Regions from separate parts of the Homo sapiens genome. Here regions 1, 2 and 4 are each linked to region 3. The links are contacts of gene promoters, found by promoter capture Hi-C in blood cells and fetal thymus (Javierre and others, 2016). All regions are on one chromosome and are shown on one strand. Each heading gives the region's core, a stretch centred on a gene start or on the middle of the fragment in contact. The rest is flanking DNA. Distances are from core to core; before and after follow the strand shown.

Evidence for each region. The method cuts DNA at HindIII sites, captures the fragments that hold promoters and counts their contacts. A CHiCAGO score of 5 or more calls a contact.
Region 1: the fragment with the promoter of TRIM24 here is called in contact with the fragment with the promoter of POT1 in region 3 in 2 of 17 cell types (total CD8 T cells and total B cells); the score reaches 9.3 in total CD8 T cells.
Region 2: the fragment with the promoter of BRAF here is called in contact with the fragment with the promoter of POT1 in region 3 in 2 of 17 cell types (total B cells and naive CD8 T cells); the score reaches 7.8 in total B cells.
Region 4: the fragment with the promoter of CNOT4 here is called in contact with the fragment with the promoter of POT1 in region 3 in 1 of 17 cell types (non-activated CD4 T cells); the score reaches 5.2 in non-activated CD4 T cells.

Annotation. Positions count from the first base shown.
Region 1 is chr7:138,457,242-138,461,883 of GRCh38, reverse strand. It overlaps TRIM24 (tripartite motif containing 24), which reads right to left and starts at 1,625. Exons shown (of 19, transcript NM_015905.3): 1 at 972-1,625. The coding sequence starts at 1,335. RefSeq lists silencers at 754-1,233, 1,264-1,513, 1,574-1,963 and enhancers at 1,474-2,256, 2,660-3,170. The HindIII fragment of the contact is 2,319 bases long and covers 594-2,912 here.
Region 2 is chr7:140,923,572-140,928,514 of GRCh38, reverse strand. BRAF (B-Raf proto-oncogene, serine/threonine kinase) reads left to right here and starts at 3,586. Exons shown (of 18, transcript NM_004333.6): 1 at 3,586-3,949. The coding sequence starts at 3,812. LOC105375536 (a long non-coding RNA gene) reads right to left here and starts at 3,423. Exons shown (of 5, transcript XR_002956518.2): 1 at 2,013-3,423; 2 at 1,326-1,444. RefSeq lists a silencer at 3,694-3,763. The HindIII fragment of the contact is 2,638 bases long and covers 3,047-4,943 here.
Region 3 is chr7:124,927,899-124,932,483 of GRCh38, reverse strand. It overlaps POT1 (protection of telomeres 1), which reads left to right and starts at 2,659. Exons shown (of 19, transcript NM_015450.3): 1 at 2,659-2,690; 2 at 3,485-3,669. POT1-AS1 (POT1 antisense RNA 1) reads right to left here and starts at 2,611. Exons shown (of 8, transcript NR_125719.1): 1 at 2,468-2,611. RefSeq lists enhancers at 2,375-2,669, 2,424-2,723. The HindIII fragment of the contact is 3,988 bases long and covers 2,371-4,585 here.
Region 4 is chr7:135,508,366-135,513,446 of GRCh38, reverse strand. CNOT4 (CCR4-NOT transcription complex subunit 4) reads left to right here and starts at 3,345. Exons shown (of 12, transcript NM_001190850.2): 1 at 3,345-3,558. RefSeq lists enhancers at 2,650-2,819, 2,970-3,089, 2,465-3,369, 3,400-3,599, 3,370-4,275 and a silencer at 3,160-3,399. The HindIII fragment of the contact is 7,472 bases long and covers 1-5,081 here.

The DNA of each region.
Region 1 (4,642 bases), core at 376-2,875, about 14 Mb before region 3:
ATAATTACTTAATTAGCATTTTATTTCAAACTAAATCAACTATTTCCTCTAAAAAGTATTAAAAATGCTTTTCCAGTTACACTGTATTTTTAAAAAGGAGGTGCTCAAATATTTGCAATAATAAAATTTAAAAACCGCCAAGTGTTCTACCCGAAACTGTACTCAAACTTACTTTAAATGTTTCAAACCTGTCAAAGTTAGCAATGGAACACCTGTCAAAAGTCTAATTTTACAGTAATAAACACCACAAAGAGAACAGTAACTTCCAGCTTTATCTATAAAATACCAGAAAACCCAAATCACTTTGTATTATTTCTCTTCGCCGTCTCAAAATAAAACCTTTGAAAGAGACACACAACAAAACAACGTCTCTTGGTTCCTTTGTCCCCAGCAGAGGAGAGGGAAGAGAACTGGGAACTCATTAAGGTAAAGAGCCCCAAACATGCAAGATAAGAAATAAATGACATCCGATCTGCAATCAATCATCAAAGAAAGTCACCATCACTTCATCTTCATCCCTCCCTTCTCCCCTGCAGCTCAAATAACGTGAGTATAGACGAGATGATCAGGATCATATGGACCTGGACAAAGCTTTGTGGAGGCAGCGGGCGGGTAGCAGTTAACTGGCTGCAGCCGGCAAAGAACCCGAGATTCCGGCTGCAGGAGACTCCGACAGAGGTCTGCAAAAGTGCGAGTGGCAGGGGCCGCCCGGCTGTTGAGAATGCGGAGCAGCGGCGGCGGCGGCGGCGCGGTCAAGTCCACAGCGCCCGGGGAAGTTGCTGGCCGAGCGCGACACGCCGCAGAGCGCGGGCCCTCCATGTCACCGTCGCCAGCACAGACCCTCCTGCTCGCCCCTCCCCCGCCGCGCACCCCGGGCGGCGGCGACATGACAGCGGGTCGCGCCGCACAAGGGCGCCCGCCCCCTCCTGGCCCTCTCCCCGGGCTCCCCAGCGGCCGCGGCCGGTTCTCACCTTGGGTGGCGAACGGCGACGAGCCGCTGACCGGCGAGCCGGGGGCAGGGACGGGTGGCGGGGTCTCGGCCGAGCCCAGCATGGGCGCGGGCAGCATGAGGTAGCGCTGGGGCGCGGGCAGGCAGCGCTGGCAGAAAGAGTGCAGGCAGGGCAGCAGCTTGGGCGCCCGGCTCTGGATGTTCTGGTGGCACACGGCGCAAGTGTCCAACAGGTTGAGCCGGGCCGCCTCGCCGCCGCGCTCCGAGTCCGGGCCCTGCCGACTCTCGGCCTCGTTCTCCCCGCTCGGCGCCGCCGAGGGCCCCCCGGAGGCCGCAGCCGAGGCCGCTGCCGCCGCCGCCACCGCCTTCTCCACCGCCACCTCCATTGTCCTGCCCTTGCCGCCGCCGGGGAAGCGAGAGCGCGGTCTCCGCCCGCCGCCCCCGACGACCTCCTCCTCCTCCTGCGGCTGCTCCTCAGAGGCCGCTCGGTGGACTCGCGGCAGCGCCAGCGAGGGAGGGAAAGCAAACCGGGCGGGGGAAGCCTCCTCAGGCCCACGGGATCCGCCTCCCGAGTGGCGCGGCCGGAAGGAGGGTATCTGTCAGCGGAGACCGTTCCTCGCACCGGGGAGGCTGCACCCCGTCCGCTTCGCCAACCGCCGAGGCGCTCGTGGAATACGCCCAGCCCGCCCTTGCCTCCCCGCCTTTCTCTTCATCCCCCTGGCCCACCTCAGGCCCCGCCCCCGCCCCCGCCCTCCCTCTCCCAGCAACTGAGGCTTCGGTGTGGAGCGCGCCGCCCAATAGCGGCCGCGCCTGGCGAGGGGGCGGGACCTGTTGGAGCCCGCGAGGCTCCGTCGGCCGCGGCGGGAGGTTGGGAAGTGGGAGGTGCTTGCCCAGCCCCGCCCCCTCCGGACGCCTGAAATCGCGGCTTCTGATTGGGCCTTTGTGTATGTTTCCTCCTCTGAAAAGATTAAGGGTTCATTTGTTAACGACCATCCGCCTGATTCGGTCCGCGGTGTTAGCTCCTCCTAGGGGGCGGGACCTCACTTGTCTACTCAATGCCGTTAATTAAGTAACTGCTTGGAAAACTGATTTCATTACTGGAGACCTGGTCTTGTAGGAGGAGTAAATATGGTCGGAGGGTCACAGGAGGAAGGAGTGGAGGTACTGAAGAGCAAACAAGGAAATAATTTTTTAAAATACTGTGTGAAAGAGGTACTCTGGAGGCAGCAGGGATATTGCAACCTAATTTTACTCATCTCTAGAATGAATGAGTATGAAGAATAAGGGGGGGAAGTTCTCGTGCAAGTTGGAAATTTTTAAAGGGTTTCCCCAATGAAAAAGGTGAAATTAATTTTTAAAGTCAGTGATTTGCTTTTTAAGTGACTAAAAGTGGTTCGTTTTCCCAGGAATTAATACAGATTGACAAATGTTTTTATTGCATAAATATAGCATCATTAAGCAAAAATAAACCTCAATACTGTTACCCAAATAATTCATAACTTCAGGATTCTTTTGTATTTCCTCCCTCCCTCTTATTTTATTCCCTCCCTCCCTCCCTCACCTCTCTACGCTGATATCAGAAGTTACGCACATTTTTCACTCAAAAAATGGCGCAGCTTTTAAGGAACTTGAAGAATAGAAACGGAATGAAGGAAACAAGATTTTGTAACACGTAACTTTAAGAAGTATTTACCTTTTTTTTTTTTTTTTGTCAATACTAATGAAGCGGTACTGGACTTTAGAGAAAGATGGAGTGGGTCATGAAAGGCTTTGCTAAAATCACAGTTTTCCTGGAGGACTATATGGGATGGCAATGGGGGAGGGCTAGGCAACGTAGCCTTCCTTCAAGACCTTGCCCTTAAACACAACCTCCGTAGGCCTCAAGTGAGAGGTTCTTTTACTTAATCACAAGACATTCAACAGCTCTTCCCGCCTCCCCCACCCATTGGTTCCTGTTTAAGCTTGGGATTTTTTGTTTGTTTGTTTTTTTGCATGGAAGTAGCTCTTAAACCTTAGTTTGCATAAGAATAACTTGAGAAGCTTAGTGAAAAACAGGTGCTTGGGCCACCTCCGTATTCAGTTATTCAATTTTGATAGCATCTCAAGTGATTCTGACCTGGGTGGGTCCAGAAACGGAAGTCTGTCCCACAGGTCTTCACCCACTCACAAATCTCTCCACGATTTCGTCCGTATATGCCTCTCAAGCTGAAGTCGCCGCGACTCTCATGCTTCATGCTGCAGCAATTGTAAGGCCACCCTGCTTTGTACACGCTGTTCCCTTTGTTTTAGTTCCTTCAAAATTCTGACTTATCTGTTATCCCCTAAAGCCACCCCAAAGTTGAACACTCCTTCCCCAGAATTCAAACCATATTGTATATTTTTGAAGCTACACCTTGAAAACATTCACATAATAGGAATGGAATTTTGTATTCAAAAATCAACTCCCTTAATATGCTAAAAATTCATTACATAGGTGGTATACAGGATTCAAGCCTACTAAAGACAAGTCCCTCTTATTCCCCAGATGATGGTGGTAGGGAAGGAAAACTGAGAAGTAAAATTGAATAGGCTGGTTTTGAAAGAATTCCATGTAATTTGATCAAACCCACTAGCTTAAAGTTTTTCAAATCACCATGGTTTTACAGAAAATGATCTTCCATCGTTTTAGCCTTCCTAATTTCACATGAGTAAAACAATCGTACATTGTACTTTGTTCACATATATGGAACTTCAAGTCCAGAAAATGAATTTACTGTTTGTTTTTCTTAATCATATGATTTCTTTATTTGGATATTGTTGCCCTACAAAGCGTGTTCAAATATATTTCACAAAGATCCACACTACCAATAGATTACTCTTCCTTAATTACAGCTCTCATCCTATGTCCCTCCCTTATCCCATAATTTTCTGTGGCTCTCCACTGCATCCAAAGCTCTCCACAATTTTATTCCCATCTGATCTTCTTGTCTGATGTTACTGCTTTCCCATATCCATCCTGTGCTTCCGCCTAATTGGATGATGCGCTGTTTCTTGTTTCTTAACTGCACCACTACCACCACCTATGAGAGAGGAGATCAAAGCTGTCTGAACTGGAAGAGAAGGGCATCAGCAAGGAGAATAAAAGCATCAGATGCTGGCCGGGCGCAGTGGCTCATGCCTGTAATCCCAGCACTTTGGGAGGCCAAGGCAGGCGGATCAGCTGAGGTCAGGAGTTCAAGACCAGCTTGACCAACATGGAGAAACCCTGTCTCTACTAAAAACATTAAATTAGCCCGGCATGGTGTTGCATGCCTGTAATCCCAGCTACTCGGGAGACTGAGGCAGGAGAACTGCTTGAACCTGGGAGGCAGAGGTTGCAGTGAGCCAAGATCGTGCCATTGCACTCCAGCCTGGGCAACAAGAGCTAAACTCCGTCTCAAAAAAAAAAAAAAGCATTAGATGCTAGTAAGATTTCTCATCCCACCCCTCAAAAGGTGCTAGTGGGTGGAAATTCTATAACTTCCAGGGACACTTAAGAAAATCATTTTTCGGCCAGGCACAGTGGCTTGCTTAGGCCTGTGATCCCAGCACTTTGGGAGGCCGAGGCGGGCGGATCACGAGGTCAGGAGATCGAGACCATCCTGGCTAACACAGTGAAACCCCGTCTCTAATAAAAATACAAAAAATTAGCCGGGCATGGTGGTGGGCGCCTGC
Region 2 (4,943 bases), core at 2,337-4,836, about 16 Mb before region 3:
GGCTCAGACTACACACCAGCTTAGCTCATTATGGGCTATGGGCTGCAGGGACACTGTTTTGTGTAGAGGGTTTCAGCACATCAACACTGCCTATGGCAGCACTGGGGGTTTGGGGGAGGTGCTCAGAAGACAGGCTGTGTCCAATGGCAAAGGACTTGTATCTATTTATGCATGCAGTGGAGGCCTCAGAAGCTGAAAAAAGAAGGTAAGGGCTTGTTCATTAGCATACTGTATTAGTCCATTTTCACACTGCTGATAAAGACATACCCGAGACTGGGCAATTTATAAAAGAGGTTTAATTAGACTTACAGTTCCACATGGCTGTGGCTGGGGAAGCCTCACAATCATGGCAGAAGGCAAGGAGGAGCAAGTCAACGTATTACACGGATGGTAGCAGGCAAAGGGAGAGTTTGTGCAGGGAAACTCCCGTTTTTAAAACCATCAGATCTTGTGAGACTCATTCACTATCATGAGAACAGTGCAGGGAAGATCTACTCCCATAATTCAATCAGCTCCCATGGGGTCCCTCCCACAACACATGGGAATTCAAGATGAGATTTGAGTGGGGACACAGCCAAATACTGAGATGTGTCTTGGTGATTACTAGTAATAAAGAGGAGAGAAAGTTGACTGGTGTAGAACGCTTTGGAAGAAGGTTTGTGTGCGGCTGCAGATAGCCAGTTTATTATTTTAAACATGACGTGGTGGTTTTAAAACATGGCTGTAAATTCTTTGACACTTCATTGAGAAGTGGGCTCAATATCCCCTCTCCTTGAATTTGAGCCCGACTTACTGACTTGCTCATAATATAAAATGATGCAGCAGAAGTCATGCTGTGTGGCTTTGGAGGCTAGATCATAAAATGCAATTCAGCTTTAACCTTGTTTACTGAAACACTAGCATTTGAAGCCCTGAGCTGCTTCGTAAGAAGTCTGACTACTCTGAGGCAGCCATGCTAGGAGGAAGCTCAGGCCACATGAAGAGTAGATTTAGGTATTCTGGCTGACTGCCCTATCTGAGGTCCCAGCTTCAACCACCAGCCATGTCAGAAAATATGCCTCCAAAGGATTTCAGTCTTCAACCATTGAGACACCCCCAGGCACTGAGTCTTCCCAGCTGAAGCCCCAGACATCATGGAGCAGAGATAAGCCATCTTTGCTATGCCTTGTCTGAATTCTGACTGAGAGGGTAATTTTATATTTTTCAAAGGGTGAAAGTATAATGTTTGATCCTCACAATGATAGTTTGGCAGGTTGGGCTAGCATTATTATAACCTTCATTTTATAGATTAAAAAACAAAACAACAAACAGGGATTTAAGCTTACCTGCTTTGAGATTGTATAGCTAAGGTGTGGAGTGCTGACGCTAAAATCCTGATCTTTGGACTCCAAAGCTTATGCTTTCTCTCGTTTCTCATCTGGATACTGTAGGACTTTAGAATGGCCTAAGGAAGTAAAACAGGATATATCCAGAATTTTAAGGCAAGGTCAGAAAATGTCAAATGAGTAGAACGCTAAGAAGAATCAATATTAAATGGATGAGACCAGTCATCCTGTGGAGAAATAATCATGGAAGATCTGAACTACAGACTGATACTGACAAATAAGGCTAGAATTCAAAATGGAACCAATGTGAGGATAAAAGCCTTTAAAACTTTTAATGTTATAAGGAAGTGTTATAATGATATAACATTTTTAGCAGCTAATTTTTTAAAAATGAAATAGGACAGTTAGAGAATTAACAAAAATCTTGCCAGTTGTGTTTCTGATGAAAGGGTGATGAAAGGGTGATGAAAGGGGAAAAGGTGCCATGACTGGCTAATGGTGCTATTTCAGTCTGCTTCTAAGTATGTCCTTATAGTAAAGGGTGCTTCAGATTAGTTTAGCTTGATGACATCATCCCTTGTGATCATTTACTCTACATTTGCCAAGCCACTTTTTGATTTAAATTTATTTCCTCATAGAAACTTTCCTACTTGGAGGAGAATGTACAATGAAGTTAACAAAGCATACCATGTTCATGTTTTTTTTTTTTTGGAGACAGAGTCTGGCTCTGTTGCCCAGGCTGGAGTTCAGTGGTGCAATCTCGGCTCACTGCAACCTCTGCCTCCCAGGTTCAAATGATTCTCCTGCCTCAGGCTCCTGAGTAGCTGGGATTACAAGTGTGCACCACCACACCAGGCTAATTTTTTGTACTTTTAATAGAGATGAGGTTTCACTACGTTGGCCAGGCTGGTCTCAAACTCCTGGCCTCAGGTGATCCATCCGCCTCAGACTCCCAAAGTGTTGGGATTACAGGCGTGAGCCACTGCGCCCGGCCTACAATGTTCATCTTATAGGTTATATTTTTTCAATGCAGAAGAATGTTAGTATTCTCATTCATCAAGCAGCCTCACACAGCATCCTTTACCTGAGAGTAAGCATCAGCTCCCAGGCTTACGGTGACCCTAATCAATATGAAGACACCCTGTTTCAGAAGTCAGTAGGACACCTTTCTATTTCTTGAATCATCCAAAATACAGTAAGGAGGTCGCTGGTGACTTCCCCCATGATGGGAAGTACTAAAAGGCAGAATCCACTTAGTTTTTCATGACTTCATGTTTAGGTTACTTTGGTGATTCACTCCAGGCCATTGGGAGCCCACAGTAATTGTTTCTCATTCCCGTTTCTCTCTTCCTTAAACTTTTCTTTTCCAATTATTTATTCTTTATTAGATCCATGTATTTTTAATAATGAATTGAATTTCATTCTGTAATTGGGCTTCTCAAAGATAATTGACCTCTTCTCTCCCAATTGTTTTCATGCGTATTTTGCAGAGAATGCTTGGAATATTCTGTTCATGAAAGGCACAAAGTACATAAAATATTTTGAGTGATTTTCTTCAAAATAAAAATGATTAGTTTTGATGCTTCAGATGTCTAGAATGCTATGTGCCTTGTACAGGCCCTACGGCATGGAAAGTGCTCAACTGATATTTGTTAAATGAATGAATCTGGAAAACGAAAAATACACGAAATATTTTATTCCTCAACAATGAAGAAAAAGCTTTCAGACTTCCATTTAGACTCGTTTTAACTGGCTGAATTCTTCAATGAAAAGAAAACACGCGTCGCACTGCTAATTTAGCTGTTCCTAAATATATTTCCATCAAATTCTGCTTGGCTGTTTCAACCTTGGGGTTGAAGTTCTTATTTTGATGACACAGAGACGTTCATTGCAGTGGAAATAGCAAGTAGTATTGGCTTCCCCGCCTTCCTCCCTCTAGGATTTCAACTTCTCCTCCTCGAACACCAGCCCTGCTCTTCTAGTAAATCCCACATTACAGAACAGGCTGAGGACGGAGGAGACAAGAGGAAAGTAGGAAACCGGAGCCATGGAAACGGCGGAGCGGAGGCAAAGTGTGAGAGCGCGGGTGGTTAGAAGGGAAAAAACCCTCCCCGGACGACGGCGCGAAGGCGCGCCTCAGATTACGTCACGCACCGGGGTGACGTCACGACCGTGACACGCGGGTGACGCCGTTGCCGCGGCGACTTCTCGTCGTCTCCGCCCCCTTCCCCCGCTCCCCCCCGCACCCCCGCCTAGCGTCCTTCCCCCAATCCCCTCAGGCTCGGCTGCGCCCGGGGCCGCGGGCCGGTACCTGAGGTGGCCCAGGCGCCCTCCGCCCGCGGCGCCGCCCGGGCCGCTCCTCCCCGCGCCCCCCGCGCCCCCCGCTCCTCCGCCTCCGCCTCCGCCTCCGCCTCCCCCAGCTCTCCGCCTCCCTTCCCCCTCCCCGCCCGACAGCGGCCGCTCGGGCCCCGGCTCTCGGTTATAAGATGGCGGCGCTGAGCGGTGGCGGTGGTGGCGGCGCGGAGCCGGGCCAGGCTCTGTTCAACGGGGACATGGAGCCCGAGGCCGGCGCCGGCGCCGGCGCCGCGGCCTCTTCGGCTGCGGACCCTGCCATTCCGGAGGAGGTGAGTGCTGGCGCCACCCTGCCGCCCTCCCGACTCCGGGCTCGGCGGCTGGCTGGTGTTTATTTTGGAAAGAGGCGGCGGTGGGGGCTTGATGCCCTCAGCCACCTTCTCGGGCCAGCTCCGCGGGCTGGGAGGTGGGCATCGCCCCCGTGTCCCTCTCCGTCATGCAGCGCCTTCCTACGTAAACACACACAATGGCCCGGGGGGTTTCCCTGGCCCCCACCCCAGATGTGGGGATTGGGGCAGCGGTGGTTGAGCGGGAGGCTATCAATAGGGGGCGAAACTCAGGGTTGGTCCGAGAAGGTCACGATTGGCTGAAGTATCCAGCTCTGCATCTCTGTGGGGTGGGGGCGGCGGCGGCCTCGACGTGGAGGATATAGGTTAGTTGCTGGGGCTGAGACAACAGCCCGAGTTACTGTCGCGTGTAATTCTTACATGGTCGTGGGGATGATGGGGCTCATCATTTCCTCTCTCCTCTCCCGGACTGCCCCCCTTCTCAGTCCGCTGCCCTTTTTCACTTTTCTATTTGGGGATTTCTCTTCACCTGTTTTACCCAGCAAATTATTTTGATTTAGTCTTTACTTTTTCAATCCTAAATCGCAGTTTCCGATGCCTTTTCTGGTCTCTGGTCCTCTGTTCCTAATGTTTGTCAGCGCTCTGTCGCTGATTGGTAACCCCCATTCTATTCCCATCTACCGCCCGCTCATTTTCCAGTTGTCGGACCTGCCTGCCTTCTAACCCCAGCTCCCACTTAAGAGCATTTTTGCACTTCTCTTACCCTGGTCCTCTTGAGGCTCTGTACTTGATCTCACCACTCCCTAACATTGTTGTCTGTTGTTATCTTCACAAATCCTCCTGGACACTTTGGAGCTACTTGTTTTCTGAGCCCAGAAGCTGTCAAGATTCCATCAGGTTTCACTTGGCTCTTTTCGCGCTTGCACTACTGGCACTTTTTGGCTAGTCGTCCATTGTGCATTCACACCTCTTTATTCCT
Region 3 (4,585 bases), core at 1,410-3,909:
GATAATATGAAAATGCTATGAGAGGGAAGATGTGTCAGAAATTTGCAGACTAATTTCTTTCACGTTTGATTTATTTATGATAACTATACTGAATCCTTATATTTATACATCACTTAAAAATTACCCATTTTGCTTTTAGTCTTCATTATTTATTAATGAAAATTTAATTTTAACTTTTCTTAAAATGAACATTTTTACATTGCAGATTTTATATAAAAACTTTTTTCATTGAACCTTTAAAAGTCATAACTTCTAATAACAATTACATTAATTGTTAGCCTTAGAGTAGCTTTTTTATGCTGCTTCAACAGGCATAGAACAATAGTAATGGATTGTTTTGGCATTAATATGTCTTCATTGCCTTATTCAGTTGATTCAATCTCTTTTTTTCCTCTCTTATTATCTTAAATTGTACTGTATATTCATGAGCAATTTTCTTCATTTGTGGAAATTAATTGCTAATGTGAGGGAAAGCATTACAGGCTCTGGAGCCTCTGCCACTAATTGGGAGATTATGCAGAAGAAATAAGATTGGAAGTTACTTGAACGTGTAGGAAGTGTTGTGTCCCACAGGAACTGAGAACAACCACTTTAACAAAATAAAAGGACTTACGTATACCTCTATTAGACATCTTCATCACATTCTACAGAACATGGATACTTACAGGCTAAACAGATTATGAGAAATTTTAAAAGATTCAGTTGGTAGAAGGTAAGAGGAAAACTAGGACCATGTTGTAGCACAAAGAATGTTTTCAAAAATATGAGACTAAAAATGTCCTTTTGGGTTAGCAATAAAGAGTTCTTCAGTGGTTTTTCTAAGGGCAGTTTAAGTGTAATGGGGTGGTGGGGGGCAGGGGTGGGATGGAGGGGTGGAAGTCAGAAGTAAGATAAACAGTTTTCCTCAGCATTTGTTCATTCAACAAATATTTAGTACCCACAGAGGAGTGTGAGACTGACTGGGCAACATAGTGAGAACTCGTCTCCACAAAATTTTTTTAAAAAATTAGCCGGGTGTGGTGGCCTGTGCCTGTAGTCCCAGCTACTTAGAAGGCTGAGGCCAGAGGATAGCTTGAGCCCAGGAGTTCCAGGCTGCAGCGAGCTATGATCTCGCCACTGCACTTCAGCCTGGGCGACAGAGCAAGAGCCTGGGAGAATGTGTTTAAATGGTGACGGGAAAGAATGAATAAAAGAAGGAAAGCTTAAAATACATTAAGAGAAAATATATTGATGATGATGGAAGGGAGATGAAATTGGTCAGGGTCCAAAGCCCATGTGGAGGGCTTCACATAAAAAGGAGGAATAGTATTTCTCAGCCGGATGCAGCCAGAGATGGAAGGAGGATAGCATCTAAACCTTCCCTATAGTTTTCCTCAAATGGACAGCTCCTGAGTTCATGCACTTGTCACCCCGGCTTCTGCGTGGGATATAACTACAGGGATGGGGAGGGGAAACAGGAGATGGGCTAATACTGAATGCTTCCTGTTGATTAAAAAGGCACTTCAAACATAGCTGGCTGGGCACAGTGGCTCATGTCTGTAATCCCAGCACTTTGGGAGGCCAAGGTGGGCGGATCACAAGGTCAGGAGTTCGAGACCAGCCTGGCCAAAATGGGAAACCCCGTCTCTACTAAACAAATACAAAAATTAGCCAGGCATGGTGGCCTGCGCCTGTAATCCCAGCTACTAGGGAGGCTGAGGCAGAAGAATTGCTTGAACCCGGGAGGTGGGGGTTGCAGTTAGCCGAGATTGCGCCATTGCACTCCAGCCTGGTGACAGAGCGAGATTCCGTCTCAAAAAAAAAAAAAAAGTTAGCTATATCCTCCTGCAAATATGTATATAAAGAAGATATTTTAGTTCAAATTAGCCTTGGAAATATTCATGTAATTCTTTATTACATTTAGTTTCACACTAGGATGATTTCACTTAAATGATTGAAGGCATATATCTGGAATTAGCAGAGAATTCATGTTTAACAATTTATCATTATAAATGATAAATTATAATATTTATCAATTATAAGTTATAATAAATATTAAATAAACTATAATAAACCTATAAAATAAATTATAATAAATATTAATTATACCACAAAATCATGGCCCTATAAAACAATGACAAGGTTAATCAAATCTGTCTGTAAATAGCAAGACTCAATGGTGGCATTATGCCAATGCCCGAAATTACTATAAAAACTCCCAAATAACATTGTTATCCTTGTAAATGCTTCCTTGTAAAGACTGCAGTAGGTGCCTATTTCTTGGAGGAAGAGAACTGGACATTAAAAGAAAGGCTCTGCCTACAGGAGCTTCGAATCTACCAAAGGGAAGCTCAAATCCCGCCCAGCGGACCCGCCCGCTTCCCCTAAGCTTGCCTCCCGCCACGAAAGCTGGAAAGTCACTGGGGGCGGAGCTAAGGGGAGCTGCGAGAATTCCGGGGGATGTGACCGGACTGGGCGGGGCCTGTACCTTGGCCCTGCGCTCCCGTTGACGTCGCATCCTGTCAGTATTTCGCCAAACCTCCAGGCGCCATCAGTGTGTGAACCGTTACGCAGCTGGTCCACCGCGGGCGGAGAACAAGCGACTATGCCCAGGGATCCTGCACGCATGCGTGGAGCTGAACCGTCAGCGTGCGTGTGACGTCACCTGCGCGCCCGCCTAAACTCTTCCTAGGGTTCTTTCTAGAGTACGGGTGAGTGAAATTTGTAAGGTTTGGTGTGTTCATTTGAGTGGGTGCCAGACGTAACGGGCCCGGGATTGAATTAGTTTAGATCAAAATTTGATGTAATTATCGCAGAGAAACGCTTTCTTACGAGTGTTTATCTCGAGCCTGCTGTGTTCAGCATCTTTCTTGGTGTTTTGGGAGAAGCAGACAGGAGTTAAGTCCAAGTCCCCGCCCTCACAGAGCTCAGGTGGCTTGGGGGAAGGTTGGTGCGCAAACATTAAAATTAGATATCGACACTAGTGAGTGTCCCCGTCAAGAGGTCTGTGAAATAAGGTTGAGCCTACGATGCAGAAGTTAATCTCAGTTCAGTAATTTTTGTTTCTTCATTTATTTAGCGGGTGAAGGGAGGGGGCCACAGAAACATGTTGGAGTACGATGCTTTTGGTGCACAGTTTGTCTATACAATATTACAGCTCCCGTGGGGGTTAAAAAAAAACACGATTTTTCAGCCTCCCTCTTCCCCAATAAATTTTACATTTTAAAGCACAATGTTAAAAGCGTTTGTTAGTGACGTTACAGATCTTAAAACTGGCTTTTTGGAGGTACTTTACGCAGCTAAGTAGAAAATGGTTAAGTTTCAGTTCCTTGGAAGAATGTTTTGTATTGATCTTTGCAATAAAATTGTAAAATAATCCATCCTCCTGTCACCCCCCAACCCCGAACCGTGTTAACTATAATAAGGAAAAGCATAACTAAGTCAAAGAGACTTAAAGCAAATTATTGACTTCATTTTGGGTAAAACACTGGTTTTGTATTTTCAGCAGCAAGTTGTCAGATTCCCTAGTTGAATTTGCTTTGGACATCAGTGTGAAGCAGAACTGATATGCCACTTGAATTAATAAAGGAAGTCAATGGGGTGCCTGAAGTTCAGCCGCTGAGTAAATTACATAAAGTAGATTTCGGATCCCTACAGCCAGGTTACAATTATAGCAAGAAATATATTCAGGTAAGAATTTCTATAACTCAGAATGCTTTTTCCTACTAAAAGGAATGCAGTTTTTAAGTGTTGAGTTTATTTATGAGAACTGGTTTAGGTATGGTTTTTATCTTTGTCATAACATTTGAGATTGAATATTTCAATAAGTTATTCTTATTCAGTACTTATTTAGCGAACAATTATCAAATTCGTGTGTGAAACATTGGAGTAAGTTTCTGAGGTACAAAGATGAATAAATATAGTCCCGGAACTAAAGATAATCACATTTCTGTGGGGTCTGACAGATCAATCACCTGATCTCCAATTAAAATTAATAGGTGTGATATTAGCATTGTGATGTGTGAACATGAGAGAGCTTTTGGTTCTGACAGATCACGAAAGTTGAGCTGGAACTTACGGGATAACAGACTGTGCTGTACCTTCCTTTGAGGTAAAAAGCAGTCCTTATGTGCATGTTGAGGAATTTGGATATTACTCTAAAAGCTATGGGAAGTCTTTAGTAGGTTTTAGCAGGAGAAAGACATGATTTACTTTGAGTTCAAAAAACTTTGCTCCTAGGTAGAGAATATATTGGCGAATGCAAGATTAGAGGAAAGATGTTTAGTTAAGAGGCAATTACAGTAATTTAGGTGAGAGTTGATGATGATCTGGGCCAGTGGCAGAGGGGATGATGGGAAGGATATTGAAAAAAGATAGTAATAATAATAACTAAAGTTAACATTCATTGCATTTTTTTCCATGCGTTAGGTAGTTTTTACGTATATTATTTAATCATCACAAAGACCTATGACATAGGTACTGTTATTAAAGACACTGTGTTTCAGAAAGGTTAAGCAATTTGCCTGAGATCATATTGATGATATGAAGTAGAGCAGGAATTTGAATATAGATGATTTCCTTTAGACCTGACAGGATAAAGAAGCAG
Region 4 (5,081 bases), core at 2,096-4,595, about 11 Mb before region 3:
TGGGTTCAAGCAATTCTCCTGCCTCAGCTTCCTGAGTAGCTGGGATTACAGGCACCTGCCACCACACTTGGCTAATTTTTTTGGTATTTTTAGTAGAGACGGGGTTTCACCATGTTGGCCAGGTTGGTCTTGAACCCCTGACCTCAGGTGATCCACCCGCCTTGGCCTCCCAGAGTGCTGGGATTACAGGTGTGAGCTATCGTGCCCAGCCTGTGGTGAGTGTTTTTTTTAACCACCTCCTGTCTCTGCATATTCTCCACTCTCAACCTGGTAAAGACTACCCTCCTCTCCCCACCAATCTAAATTAGGCTCCCCTCTTAAACTTTCTCATAACATCCTTTATACATCTTCTTAGTACTCATGACCAATTGTAATCATATATATGAAATTCTGTTTATATGCTTGTAGTTATTTATTTATATGATTATTTAATCTCTGCTTTTTCTACTAGGCATTATGCTCTATGAGGACAGGGACCATGTTTTGCTGACCATTGTTTTGCTATACCACCAGCATTGAGCACAATGCCTAAAGGCAAAATAGATTTGTTAAGTGAATAGATAGGTTCCACACTTAGGAATCATTAGGTAAGCAAAGTAATACAACTGAATGTTTTTTGTTTTGTTTTGTTTTGTTTTGAGACAGAGTCTCACTCTGTTGCCCAGGCTGGAGGACAATGACATGATCATGGCTTACTGCGGCCTCAACTTCCAAGCCCAAGTGATCCTCCCACCTGAGCCTCCCAAGTAGCTGGAACCACAGGCAGGCACCACCATACCCAGCTGTTTTTCAAATTTTATCTTTGTAGAGACAGAGTCTCCCTAGGTTGCCCAGGCTAGCCTTGAACTTCTAGCCTCAAACAGTTCTCCCGCCCCAGCCTCCCAAAGTCCTAGGATTACAGGCATGAGTCACCACACCTGGCCAAATTTAATGTTAACTTTTAAAATTATATGAGAATGAAGTGTTACATACATAAGTCTATATGATAGTATATATATACACATATGCATACATAAACATATGAAAACTGGCAATGTAGTATAGTAAAAGGAGTACTGGCCTGAGATGGTAGTGACTCTTACAATTGGTGACCTAGGAACTGTCACCTCCTTACTGTCAGTCTCAATACAGGGGTGGCATTGCCCCCTAGTGTTGGATATTTTATTTATAAGTGCTAGCAAACCATGACTTGACTGTATTTCTAGAATGGTCATGCTGAGCATTTATATATTGAAATACAATTTTATTATAAAATATTTTCTTCATATCATTTATATTATAAATAGCACATCATTTTGATTTCAGATGAAATCATGTATATAGGTAGTTTATATACCTATGAATTTCATTTTAGGCTAACAAAGAGCATATTATAAAAACATTTATTAAAAAAAGGAATGTTGGGTAAGATAAGGTTGCCACTGGATTAGGTGATGCTTAAGATCCCTTCCAGTTTTTACTGTGATGATTCTAATCTTTCATAATGGGAAGGCTTCTTTTTATTTTGTTCTTTTCATTACTTTGTTTATATACTACTATAGAATCAGTAATATATACAAGAACAATAAACACATTTTTAAATAAAAATGTCAACCATATTGAATGTTTAGGCATTTAATTACCTAAAGGGAAATCCAAATAATTTCCCAAGTTTCCTTGCTAGGTAATCATTTCATGATTCTATAATTTCAAACTTTGGGTAAAATGTGACTTCACTACATATTTTAATTTTTACCCAAGTAACTGTTGTCTCTAGGTTTATAGTGAGGAAACTGAAACACAGAAAACCAATGTACCAAAAGAATGAGGCCGGGTGCCCTGGCTCACGTCTGTAATCCCAGTACTTTGGGAGGCCGAGGCAGGCAGATTACCTGAGGTCAGGAGTTCGAGACCAGGCTGACCAACATGGTGAAACCCTGTCTCTACTAAAAATATAAAAATTAGCCTGGCGTGGTGGCACGTGCCTGTAATCCCAGCTACTCGGGAGGCTGAGGCAGGAGAATCACTTGAATCCGGCAGGCGGAGGTCGCAGTGAGCCGAGATCGCGCCACTGCACTCCAGCCTGGGTGACAGAGCTAGACTCCGTCTCAAAAAAAAAAAAAAAGAAAAAACAATGAATTGAGGGCTTATTATGAAATTAAGTTCGTAAATTTAAAACTGCAACCTCTTTCCCTACTCCCCTTCCCTGCTTTAAGTTTTTAAAATCGGTTATGACATACTATGCATTTTAATCACGTATTTTTAAAATAATGCCTCTTCTCTCCTCTTCCTCATCCCAACACATCACTAGAATAGGGACAGGGAATTTTTTCTATTTTGCTCACCATTGTATTCTCAATATATAGAAGAGTACCCGGCAGCTAGGAGGAGCTCATTGAGTATTTGCTGTATGAGTGGGTGAAGAATACATGCAATAAGCAAAAGTTACTGCTTCGAGCGCCACTTCCACCAGAGTTCTGGGATGCAAACGGGGCGACCAGTACATTGACTGACTTTTGTGACTGATGATTCCTCAGTGCTCGTAGGGATTGTGGCTGCATTTATTGTTCTTGGGGATGTGCCGATGTGTGTAGTTTGTAAACTTGCACACAGCTGTGCTGGCTGGACACCGAACTAACACTAATTTGCACCGAGGTCCGCAAATTCTCAAATTCACACCAACAGAAGCACGTTATTGTAAGTGCACGGGTGTTCCGTTCTCTTGGGTAATCTGCACAGAACAATTTAGTGTATGTCTTCACTGGTGATTTTACAGTGAAGAAGGGATCAAGGGTGGTGGCCCCAAATGCGCAAGGACAGGGAAATGAATTAAACAGGCGCCTGTTTCCTCCTTGTTCGCAAACAGACGCCAAGTCTGTATCAAATTCTCACCCTGGATCAAATCCCGCGCTCTTCGTACCCACAACCTGCCTCCACCTCCACCCCGCCCCCTTTAGATATCCCTGGTGGGCGGGGCAGAGAATAAACATTCCGGGCTCCCCGAAAAACTGTTTAGCCTCGCCCCAGTCTTGGGGTAGCACATTTCCGCAAACACCGAGGACACGGAATCACTAGTGAAAACCGCCGACCAAATGACATTGAAGCAGCACACGCGTGCAGAGAAGGAAGCAAAACACGAAGAAAGGCATCAGTCCAGCAGCCACGTGAGGTGGGCGATCCCCTCCGCCCTCTGAGAGAGGACTTCAACTCCCGGCGTGCCCCTGGGAGGTTACCCTCCGAGGACTTCAACTCCCAGGGTGCTGCGGGAGCGGCCACCGCAACCTCCCACTCAGCCGCCCGCCGCTCCTCCCGCCCCTCCCCCGCCCCTCCTGGCCGGATCAGCGTGCGCCTGCGCACGGGAGGCCGGAGGAGTCTTACCCTAATGTAAGATGGTGGCCCGTCTGGCTGTGGAACCCACCGAAAGCTGAGAGTCTCTCTCTCAGCCGTAAAGGTCGGACTCGCTGAAGCAATCAGGCCCGGTTCTGAAGAGTTTTTTCCCCGACGCTCGTTCGGTGGTTTCTTGTGAGGACGCGGCAGCCCGTGGAGTCGGCTGAGGGAAAAGCGAGGCAAGGCAGGCGGGTGAGTCTATGCGGGGCTGGGCTTAGGGGAAACCCGGGGCTGACCGGCTACGAGAGAGCGGAGGCTTCGCTGGGACTGTACAGGCCGCACCCCCCTTTCTCCCCACCCCCCGCCTCATCTTCACCCTCCTCCTCCTTGGTCTTCTTCCTCCTCCTCCTCTTCCTCCCTCTCCCCTTTACGCCACAGCAGTTACCATAAGGAAAAGGGAGCGGGTCAGAAGGCAGCGCGGCGGCAAGCAGCGACTCTCCTTCGAGAATTTCTTTAATTGGGGAGCCGAGGCGGCTTTTGGTCTCCAGCTTTTCCCCCTGCATTTTCACCGGGGCAGGATTCTTAGGTCTCAGCCCTCCTTGTTTCCCCAATCCCCTGTTCCCTGTCTGACGTCCTTTCCCTCTGGCCCCCGTCTCCCAAGACCAAAGCCATCACTTCCACTCTGATCCGTGTTGGCTGCTGCTGCTCATTAATCCCACTGCTCATTGCCCACTCGTCCTGCTGCTTGTTTTTTTGCTCCACTGCTACCACTCTGGAGTTAGCCTTTGCCCCCCTCTGGTGCTTGCAATCAGCCCACAGTGTATCTGCCACACTAGAGCTGCTTCCGATTTGCAGTCTTTCCTTCCACCACATCTGTCATCTTAAAGCTGCCCCTTAAGTATCTAGATTATGCTCCTCCTGCTAACCCACCTGTTTCTCAGCCTTCTTGAGAATTGTCCGTTCCTTCCCTCTTTCCTGTACAGATCCTTTCAATATACACTTCCAGAAAAAGGGAAGCCCCGTGGTGGCCCTTGAAAAGTAAAAGGAAGTTGGGAAGTGAATGAAGTGAGGTAGGATACTATTAAACGTTATGAGTGAAGATCTTTTATTCAGGCTACTCCGGAGAGGACCGTTTTCGTTTTGCTTTCTGTGATCTATTTGTCGCTTATTCGCTCTGTTGTGTTAGGACTTGGCTTTTTTTCTTTTTTTTCGTTTTGGACCGGTTTTATCATGCTACTAAGCGTTCTTTGGATTGCCTCTCCCCAGGACACTTAGTGTGGGCCCTGATTTATACCAATAAATATTAACCCCAGCATTACAAAATAAGATAAATCTGGCGCACATACAGAATTCATCTGTGAACTCCGCTAGCAAATATAAGTGATATTTTGATTACATGTGGGTTATGTGTGGGTTCTGTATTGAGGCTTGATTTTTGACTGAGTTTTATTGATGTTCAGCTTAATTGATGACATTTTATTTATGATTTGAGTGGAAATTTCCTCTCCAGTTAATATCAGATTTTCTTCTTATTTTTGGATTTGGGAAGTTCTCTTGACATTTCTAGGATGATAGTTATCAGAATAAATTGTCTTGTCTTGAAAATCCATTAGTTATGTATGCAAAAGAAAAATCGACATTTTTATATAAACCTAAGTTCCTCGTATTTTTCTCATAGAAAAGAAGGGGGCTGGGAAAAGAATGACAAAGCTGTGCACATACATGCATTTGGTGGAACTCACTGTCATTGTTATCTACAGTAAAAAGCAGAAAAC